Linked DNA regions of Homo sapiens: region 1 is linked to region 2. Evidence: promoter capture Hi-C in 16 types of primary human blood cells and fetal thymus (Javierre and others, 2016). All regions are on one chromosome and are shown on one strand. The core of a region is centred on a gene start or on the middle of the fragment in contact, and the rest is flanking DNA. Distances in the headings are between cores, read along the strand shown. Region 1 overlaps ANKRD42 (ankyrin repeat domain 42). Region 2 holds the start of FAM181B (family with sequence similarity 181 member B).

Evidence for each region. Contacts are between HindIII fragments. The CHiCAGO score rates a contact against its expected background, and 5 or more counts as called.
Region 1: a fragment that was not itself captured here is called in contact with the fragment with the promoter of FAM181B in region 2 in 1 of 17 cell types (naive CD4 T cells); the score reaches 5.6 in naive CD4 T cells.

What each region holds. Positions count from the first base shown.
Region 1 is chr11:83,200,011-83,205,013 of GRCh38, forward strand. All of the region lies in intron 2 of ANKRD42 (ankyrin repeat domain 42), which reads left to right. Among named protein-coding and RNA genes, the nearest start is that of ANKRD42, 8.8 kb to the left of the region's middle. The HindIII fragment of the contact is 1,987 bases long and covers 2,660-4,646 here.
Region 2 is chr11:82,732,580-82,737,687 of GRCh38, forward strand. It overlaps FAM181B (family with sequence similarity 181 member B), which reads right to left and starts at 1,285. Exons shown (of 1, transcript NM_175885.4): 1 at 1-1,285. The coding sequence starts at 1,150. The HindIII fragment of the contact is 9,040 bases long and covers 1-4,214 here.

The sequences.
Region 1 (5,003 bases), core at 2,403-4,902, 470 kb after region 2:
TTTTTTAATCTGTTTGTAGTTTGAGTTACAGATGTCTCCTAGTTTCATCTAGTTGGAGTTTTCTGGGTTTTTTTGCTCTTTGCTTTTGGGTGATTTTGGAGAGAAGGGGGAAGTACTGATTTTACTCTGCCATATTCTAATAGACATCAGGATATACCATTTATTTCATCTCTTTTCTGGTGCCCTTTCAGCTTCTCTTACTACTCTCACTCAGTCTACTTTGGTTAACTCACTCCTCCTATTGTGTAATTGTAGTATTGTTTACATTTCTTTCCTACTTTACAGTTTCTCCAGTCAGTCTTTTAAACTTCTTTGGCTTTATCGCTTCTACATAATTCATTTATTTGCTCTCTCTCCTGACTTTTGGATTATGTATTAAGTGCTTGATCATAGCTCATGCATATCTGACTGGCATCTCAAATTCAACTAGTCTAACACTAAAACTGTTATATTTTTCCCTCCATTTTGTAGTTTTCTAGGGCAATAGCCTTTGAATCATCATTGAGTTGTTTCAGTATTTCATATAATCAAAACACATTATCAGCATTTGTCTAGATGAAGGTGCAGTTCGTGTTACACATTGATGCAGTGAGAACTAGTCACTAGGTCAGTTGATTCTGCTCCATCTTTGTCTCCTGAATTTGTCCTCTCCATCCCCATAACCATGTTCTTAGATTTAATTAATTTTATTTTTTTGTGTGTGTGGTCCACCTGTAGTCCATATACTATATACAAAGCTATTTTCTCTGTAAAACTAAAATCTAATATTACTTGAGACCTTCCTTAAAACCCTGTAGTAACTCTCTGCCCTCCATAGGATAAAGTTCAAGCCATTTAACATGGTAGACTTATTTCTCTAACCTCATCTCCCATCATAATTGTTTTATGCTATAGTACTGGTGACTACCATCATTTCCCAAATTAGTCTACTGTTCCATATTATCATAGGCTTTGCACATGCTGTTTCTTTTCTTTTCTTTTTTTTTAATACTTTAAGTTCTAGGATACATGGGCAGAACCTGCAGTTTTGTTACATAGGTATACATATGCCATGGTGGTTTGCTGCACCCAACAACCAGTCTTCTAGGTTTTAAGCCCTGCATGCATTAGGTATTTGTCCTAATGCTCCGCCTCCCCTAACCCTCCACCCCCCGACAGGCCCCAGTGTGTGATGTTCCCCTCGCTGTGTCCATGTGTTCTTATTGTTCAACTTCCACTTATGAGTGAGAACATGTGGTGTTTGGTTTTCTGTTCCTGTGTTAGTTTGCTAAGAATGGTGGTTTCCAGCTTCATCCATGGCCCCGCAAAGGACGTGAACTCATTCTTTTTTTATGGCTGCATGGTATTCCATGGTGTATATGTGCCACATTTTCTTTAGCCTATCATTGATGGGCATTTGGGTTGGTTCCAAGTCTTTGCTATTGTGAATAGCGCTGCAGTAAACATACATGTGCATGTCTTTATAGTAGAATGATTTATAATCCTTTGGGCATATACCCAGTAATATATGACCAGGATTGCTGGGTCAAATGGTATTTCTGGTTCTAGATCCTTGAGGAATTGCTACACTGTCTTCCACAATGGTTAAACTAATTTACATTCCCACCAACAGTGTAAAAGAGTTCCTATTTCTCCACATCCTCTCCAGCATCTGTTGTTCCCTGACTTTTTAATGATTGTCATTCTAACTGGTGTGAGATGGTATCTCATTGTAGTTTTGACTTGCGTTTCTCTAATGACCAGTGATGAGCTTTTTTTCATATGTTTGTTGGCTGCATAAATGTCTTCTTTTGAGAAGTATCTGTTCATATCCTTTGCCCACTTTTTGATGGGGTTGTTTTTTTCTTATAAATTTAAGTTTCTTGTAGATTCTAGATGTTAGCCCTTTGTCAGATGGATAGATTGCACAAATTTTTTCCCATTCTGTAGGTTGCCTGTTCACTCTGATGATAGTTTCTTTTGTTGTGCAGAAGCTCTTTAGTTTAATTAAATCCTATTTGTCAATGTTGGCTTTTGTTGCAATTGCTTTTGGTGTTTTAGTCATGAAGTCTTTGCCCATGGCTATGTCCAGAATGGTATTGCCTAGTTTTTCTTCTAGGGCTTTTATGGGTTTAGGTGTTACTTTTAAGTCTTTAATCCATCTTGAATTAATTTTTATATAAGGCTTAAGAAAGGGATCCAGTTTCAGTTTTCTGCATATGGCTAGCCAATTTTCCCAGCACCATTTATTAAACAGGAAATCCTTCCCCTGTTGCAAAAGTCAGATTTGTTGAAGATCAGGTGGTTGTAGATGTGTGGTGTTATTTCTGAGCACTCTTGTTCTGTTCCATTGGTCTATTTATCTGTTTTGGCACCAGTACCATGCTGTTTTGGTTACTGTAGCCTTGTAGTATAGTTTGAAGTCAGGTAGCATGATGCCTCCAGCTTTGTTCTTTTTGCTTAGGATTGCCTTAGCTCTACGGGCTCTTTTTTGGTTCCATATGAAATTTAAAGTAGTTCTTTCTAATTCTGTGAAGAAAGTCAATGGTAGCTTGATGGGAATAGCATTGAATCTATAAATTACTTTGGGCAGTATGCACATGCTGTTTCATCTGCCTGTCTCATCTCTTCCCACTGGTTACCTGGTTGAAATCCAGGTCAGTCAGTACCCACTTGGTAAAGCTTTCTGTTTTCCCCCTCAATATCTCCCAACTAGTTACTGACTCCTTAGTGCTACCTCTAAATCTTATAAATTTTAAAAAGTGTATAACTTTAAATTTTATTCTCTATTAGATTTTGAGCTCTTTGAAGATACCATTTGAGTCTCATTCATCTTTTTTTCCACAATACCTAGTGTAATATCTGGCATATTATAGGAGTCACATCATAAGTTCACAAGAAATGTTTCTCATGTTGCTGAATTTGTTGAATTAAATTTACGTTTATATTTTTAGTGTCTAGCACAGTGCCTAGCAGATGTTCAATAAATGTTGGTTGGATTTTTTTTTTTTTTTTTTTTCAGACAGGGTATCGCTCTTGTTTCCCAGGCTGGAGTGCAGTGGTGTGATCTCAGTTCACTGCAACCTCTGCCTCCCAGGTTCAAGCAGCTCTCCCACCTCAGCCTCTTATGTAGCTGGGACTACAGGTGCATGTGCCACCATACCTGTCTAATTTTTTGTATTTTTGGTAGAGATGGGGTTTCACCACGTGGGCCAGGCTGGTCTCTAACTCCTGACCTCAAGTGATCCACTTGTCTTGGCCTCCCAATAGGGATTACAGGTGTGAGCCACCATGCCCCAGCCTGTTTGTTGGATTTTAACAAGCATAAACAGAAACCAAAAGATTTTAGTGCTTTTCTCTATTCCTACTTAAAGGTCATCTCCTAAGTTTTCCTTTTTTTCTTTCTTTTTTTTTTTTTTTTTGAGAGGGAGTCTTGCTCTGTCGCCCAGGCTGGAGTGCAATGGCACCGTCTTGGTTGACTGCAACCCCTGCCTCCTGGGTTCAAATGATTCTCCTGCCTCAGCCTCCCGAATAGCTGGGACTACAGGCATGTGCCACCACACCCAGCTAATTTTTGTATTTTTAGTAGAGACGGAGTTTCATTATGTTGGCCAGGCTCGTCTCAAACTCCTGACCTTGTGATCCACCTGCCTTGGTCTCCCAAAATGCTAGGATTACAGGCATGAACCACCGCGTCTGGCCCTAAATCTTTACTTGAGCACTACGTTAACACCTTTACAGTTTTTTAACCTTTCTGAATTTTCTTAAGATTTTTGATATTTATATATTGGTTGCAAGAAATAATCACTAAATTAATAATTGGTAAAAAACCATGCTTTATTGGACTTCAGTTTTTTTCAGATGAAATCTGCTATTGAGCTCCTAGTAAACTTTTCATTTCAGATATACTGTTCAACTCCAGAATTTCCATCTGGTTCGGTTCTCTTCTCTCTTCTCTCTTTTCTCTTTTCAAGACAGAGTCTGGTTCTGTTGTCCAGGCTGGAGTACAGTGGCATGATCTCGGCTCACTGCAACCTCTGCCTCCTGGGTTCAAGTGATTCTCCTGCCTCAGCCTCTTGAGTGGCTGGTACTGCAGGTGCCCGCCACCACGCCTGTCTAATTTTTGTATTTTTAGTAGAGACAGGGTTTCACCATGTTGACCAGGATAGTCTTGAATTCCTGACTTTAAATGATCCACCTGCCACAGCCTCCCAAAATGCTGAGATTACAGACATGAACCACTGCACCCAGCCGGTCAATTGATTTTTAACAAAGATGCAAATGTAATTCAGTGGAGAGCAGATATATTTTCATTAAATGATGTTGGCACAATTACACATATTCATATGTAAGAAAATGAACCTTTTATCCTAAGTGAATTAACACAGAAACAGAAAACGAAAAACCACATATTTTCACTTATATGTGGGACCTAAATATTGGGTACACATGGACAAAGAGATGGGAACAATAGACACTGGGGATTCCAAAAGTAGATAGGGAAGGAGGCAAGGGTTGAAAAACTACCTGTTTGGTAACCTGGTCACTATTTGGGAGATGGGTTCAATAGAAGCCCAAATGCCTCAGCATCATGCAGCATATCCATGAAACGAACGAACTTGGCACATGTACCCTCTGAATCTAAAATTAAAAAAAAAAGAAAATGAAGCTTGAGCCATACTTGGTACCATATGCAAAAATTTACTCAAAACAGATTGTAGATAAATGTAAAACTTATAAAACTTACAGAGAAAATAGAGAAGAAAACCTTTGCAAATCACGTACCTAAGAACTTGTAACCAGATTATATAAGGAACTCTCAGAACTCAGCAGTAAGAAAAAAAATTTTAATGGGCAAAAGACTTCAGTTGACACTTTCTCAAAGAGTACATATGGATGGCAATTAAACATATGAAAAGATGTTCAACATCATTAGCCATTAGGCAAATGCAAATTAAGACCACAATGAGATACCTGTAAGAATAGCAGAAAAAACAAAAAACCAAAAAAATGGCAATACAAAG
Region 2 (5,108 bases), core at 35-2,534:
GGGGCAGGGCGCAGTCTGGAAAGAAGGGGGCGAAAGAGGCCAAATGGCCCCGCCCGTCCTCCCCGCCGGGAGAATCCGCAGCGGCGGGGTACAGGGGGCTCAAGGGCTCGTTCAAGGTCAAGCCGCCGCGGGGGGCAGTCAGGGGGCTCTTTTTGGTCGGGGAGCAGCCCGGGACGCTCCAGGGCTCGGGGTACAGTAGGTTTCCCACCACTGCCGGCGGCGGCTCAAAGAGGCCGGGCTCCAGCTCCGGGGGTCCCCGCAGTACGGAGGCTCCGGCGGGGAACACGTCGAGAGGCTCGGCGGCAAGCAAGACTGCCGCCTCCGTGCCGGCGCCGTAGTCGGGCCCCAGCAGCTCAAAGAACTCCACGGCCTCCGCGCCCTTCTCCAGGTCGCCCAAGCTCACGTCCGGCCCCGACGGGCCACACCCGCCGCCGCCTGCCCGGGACGGCTCCGTGAAGAAGGACGGAGGCAGATTGCGTGCCCGCAGCGGGACCTTCCTGGCCCCTGGGATCGCCGTGGCCCCCGCGGGGCCTGCCACGTCCCCTCCCGCGCCCCCAGTGCCCGCACCTCCTAGCCCGGCCGCCGGCGCAGCCACCTCACCCCCCGCCGGCTCGGCACCCCCGGGGACGTGGCGCAGCGAGTCGAAGAGCGCGGCCAGACTTCGGCTTTGCAAGCTGGCGGCCGCGGCGGCCTGCGACGCCTCCCGCCGGGGGGCAGCCTTGCCGTGGGCCGGGGCCGCGACTGTCGGGGCGCTAGGGGCGGCCAGCGGCCGTTTGGCTGGCGTGTCGGCGGCGCTCGGGGAGGGCGGGCCGGGGGGCGCGGCGCCCATGAGGCCGCTGCAGCGCTTGATCTGCTTCTGCAGGTACTTGCGGTGGTTCACCTTCCGCTTCGACTTGCCCGGCTTGTCCAGCGCCAGCTTGATGTTGCTGGACGCCGAGTCAATGAAGCTGAGTAGATCGCGGGTGGCCTCGCGCACGTCCCCTCCTTCGGCTCCCGACAGCAGCGCACCCGCCGGAGCCCCGGTCTCATCGTCCTCGAAACAGCAGCCCTTGTCCAGGGCTCCGAAGGCGCCCCCTAGCCCGTCCGGGGAGCCCCCGAAGCCGAAGGGCACGAAAGGGTGCGTGCTGAGGAGCGCCGCCTGCACCGCCATCGCCGCGGCTCCCGGGCTGTCCGCAGCGCTGCCCGTGCGCCCCCGCCAGCTCCTGCCCGCCGCCCAGACCCAGCTCCCGCCCCGGCGCGGCGCGCGCGGCGCAGCCTACTAGTTCCGGGCCTGGCTCGCTGCGCTGCCTCCCGGGGGAGCTCATTAGGTCTTGTAAGCAAGGGGCGGAGGGAGGGAGCGCGCGGCGACCGTCCCGGTGGTAGAGGGGAGGGGCTTACTTAGCCTGGCTTGGAGGAGTGGGGGGTCGCTTTAGTTTTCTGAGCTTTCTGAAGCTCAACGCCTTAACTCCTTCGTTTCCCTTTGCCCCGTGGTGTTTCTCTTGACTCCTCTAACCGCAAGGGGTGAGGAAGAGATGGCTGGTCTCAAACTCCAGTTCAGGCCCATGAGGCCGCTGCAGCGCTTGATAGGCTTCTGCAGGTACTTGCGGTGGTGCCTCTCCTGAGGCAAGAAGGCAGGAGTCTAGAGACGTGGGTTTCAGTCCAGCTGTATAACAACACCCACCAGCTTCTGGGCGCTTGCTTCTGCCAGGCGCTGTCCATCTATTATCTCATTTAATCCTTGAACAACAGCCCTGTGAATTACATGTTATCGCCATTCAACAAACGTGGACACTGCACCTCAGGGAGGTTCAGTGAGTTGGCCAAAGTCAGATCTAGCCCATTCTGACTCCAAAGCCATTCCTAAGCCCTTGACAATACTTGCGTCCTCTCTTGCCCTTGCCTTTCTCATCTATTAAGATGGGGAAGGAAAATGAGTATTTCTTAAAGCTCTAGACCTGATCCTAAGATTCTAACCTGAGTTTTCCCAGGATTCTCAAGCCCAGTGCTCTTTCTTCTTGACTGTTTGCCACTTGATTGTTACGAGTAACAATTGGCTAACAGTAAATTGAGGCCAGCAGTGGCCCATCTTTTATTAACACATAGCAGGAGGCAATGGAGAAAGGAGTCGATCTGGCTAAGCCCCCTGTTACTTGAGAACACTGTGTGTGTATAAAACTCTCAGCATGTTAGAATAAAAGATGGATTGGAACCTCTCCCCTACCTGTCATACCATTTAGGTTATCCCTGGAATTTTCATTGCATTTCAGGGATCATCATGAAGTTCACTTAAAACTAATTTCACCTGGGCAATCCTCTTTGGGATAGATAGAGAAAATGAGCAATAAGGTCATTTTCACAAGAGATTCAGAAGAGGCTTGGGTTCTGGTCTTAGCCACCACTCAATAACCTCATGACTTAGGTTGAAATCCTTGCTCTGCTGAGTGCATGGCTTTAGACAAACCAGCGTACTCTCTCTGTTTAGCTTACTCATGTTAAATGCAGGTAAAGTTGCCCTCCCCACAGGGCACTTGTGATATTTAAATGATACATTGTTCCATAGCCTGGATGAGTATTCACCCTTACTTCTCTGAAACACAAAAAGGTGACTATATCCCTTACGTGTCTTCTGGATCATAGGGTGTTCATGAGCATTAAGTGAGATCATAGATGCTTCTCAATTTGTGATAGAGCAACAACATCCTGATAAACACATTGTAAGTTGAAAATATTGTAGGTTAAAATGCATGTAATACACTGATTCAAGTTGGAAAATCATAAAGTTGAACCATCATAAGTTGGGGACTGTCTCTATATGAAAACACTGTGTGTGTGATAAAGTGTTCTCTAAATAAGTTACTCTAGTTTCGATACAGAGCTTGCATAGGAGAGACATAGACCATCTCTTTCAAAACTCTTTTTATTAAGCCTCACTTTGTAGATGTAGCGAAACCATTTTTGAACACCATGAAGGCACAGCCTTACCAAAGAAAAAAGGCCAGATGGGCCATCAGAGAAATACAAATCAAAACCGCAATGAGATACCATCTCACACCAGTTAGAATGACGATCATTAAAAAGTCAGGAAACAACAGGTGCTGGAGAGCATGTGGAGAAATAGGAACACTTTTATACTGTTGGTGGGACTGTAAACTAGTTCAACCATTGTGGAAGACAGTGTGGCGATTCCTCAAGGATCTAGAACTAGAAATACCATTTGAACCAGCCATCCCATTACTGGGTATATACCCAAAGTATTATAAATCTTGCTGCTATAAAGACACGTGCACACGTATGTTTATTGTGGCACATAGCAAAGACTATTATTCACATAGCAAAGACTTGGGACCAACCCAAATGTCTATCAGTGATACACTGGATTAAGAAAATGTGGCACATATACACCATAGAATACTATGCAGCCATAAAAAAGGATGACTTCATGTCTTTTGTAGGGACATGGATGAAGCTGGAAACCATCATTCTGAGCAAACTATCGCAAGGACAGAAAACCAAACACTGCACAGGTGGGAAATGAACAATGAGAACACTTGGACACAGGGTGGGGAACATCACACACCGGGGCCTGTCGTGGGGTGGGGGGATGGGGGAGGGATAGCGTCAGGAGATATACCTAATGTAAATGACAAGTTAATGGGTGCAGCACACCAACATGGCACATGTATACATACGTAACAAACCTGCACATTGTGCACATGTACCCTAGAACTTAAAGTATAATAAAAAAGAAAGAAAGAAAAAAGGCCAGATGAACATTTTTCATTTAGAAGATGAAGTAGCCACTTCCCAAACCCACATAGCTGAGCCAAACTTTTTATTTTAAATTCAAATTGGCTCAATTATCATGGACTTTTCATTTGAGTTACACACAGCATTTTGTCCTCCATGGCCGAACTGTCTGTTTTACTCTTGGTGGTATTCACATTCAGAAAATTGTGCAGACCTGTCACTGATTTGTGCTTCTTCCACTCCAGATGTGGATGTCAGCACTGCCCATCCCCTTTCCAACAGGGCCATTCCATAGGCTTCCAGGTCTGGCAGCCAAAAGCACTAACTTTTTTTTTTTTTCACCTTCTGTCAACTGAGCACTCTTACAAGTCCTTGGACACCAATTGCACAGTACTCTACATTTAATCGACATCTTATTCCGAAAAAACTCTTAATCCCCAGGGTTATCTAAATCCTAAAATCATATTCAAAATAAATGGAATATGAAAAGCTTCATATGTAAAAGTCTTTCTTCATTTCTATTGGAGTTCTGCACATCAAAGTTGATTTGAAGTTAGATGAGGCCAGGTTCAAATTCTGGCCCTGCCTATTGCTATTGAACTGCTTGGACAAGTCAGTTCATATTCCAAAGGCTCAAACTCCTTATCTGAAAAAAGGGAATGGTCATAATTGTTCTCAGGGTGAGAATTACATGACATAACAGGCAAGTAATGCCTCTGAATCTTACTTTTCTCACCTGCACAGTGGAGATAATCTCAACTCCTCAAGGTTGTTGTGAGATGGTATATATAAAAGCACCTCACACAAAATAGCAGTTCAACAAATGTCCATGTTCTTGATTCCTTAGGCCCCACCCATTCCTTACCAACACATTACCCTATGAAACCAGCATCATTTGTCCTTTCCCTCAGCAAAGTGAGTGACTATTTTCAAATGCAAGAGAGTAGCTATACTTGGGGGTTGTAGAAACTTACAAAAAGACAATGAAATACAGGAGAGAGAGTGCTAAAACTGGAGCCGGAGACTGACACTGGAGTCCAGTCCTGCCTTTATTATCTGACTGCCTATGGAAAAGTCACTTAACCTTCAGGACCTCGATGTTCCCATCCATAAATGGGGAATAATAACATAATCCTATTTGATAGGGCTATTGTGAAAATCAATAAGATAATGGAAATTGAAGTTTTTGTAAACCATGGAGCTGAAATTCATGGCTTAGAAGTTCTATAGCCTGATTCACAAAATTGATCCTTACAAATAAATATCCATCCAGTCACTGATTTTTTCCAACAGAAAGATATTGACACCCACAATGTGCTCAGCGCTATGCTAGTACTGGGGATACAGAGATAAGAAGCCATGATTTCTACCCTTTGGGTGGA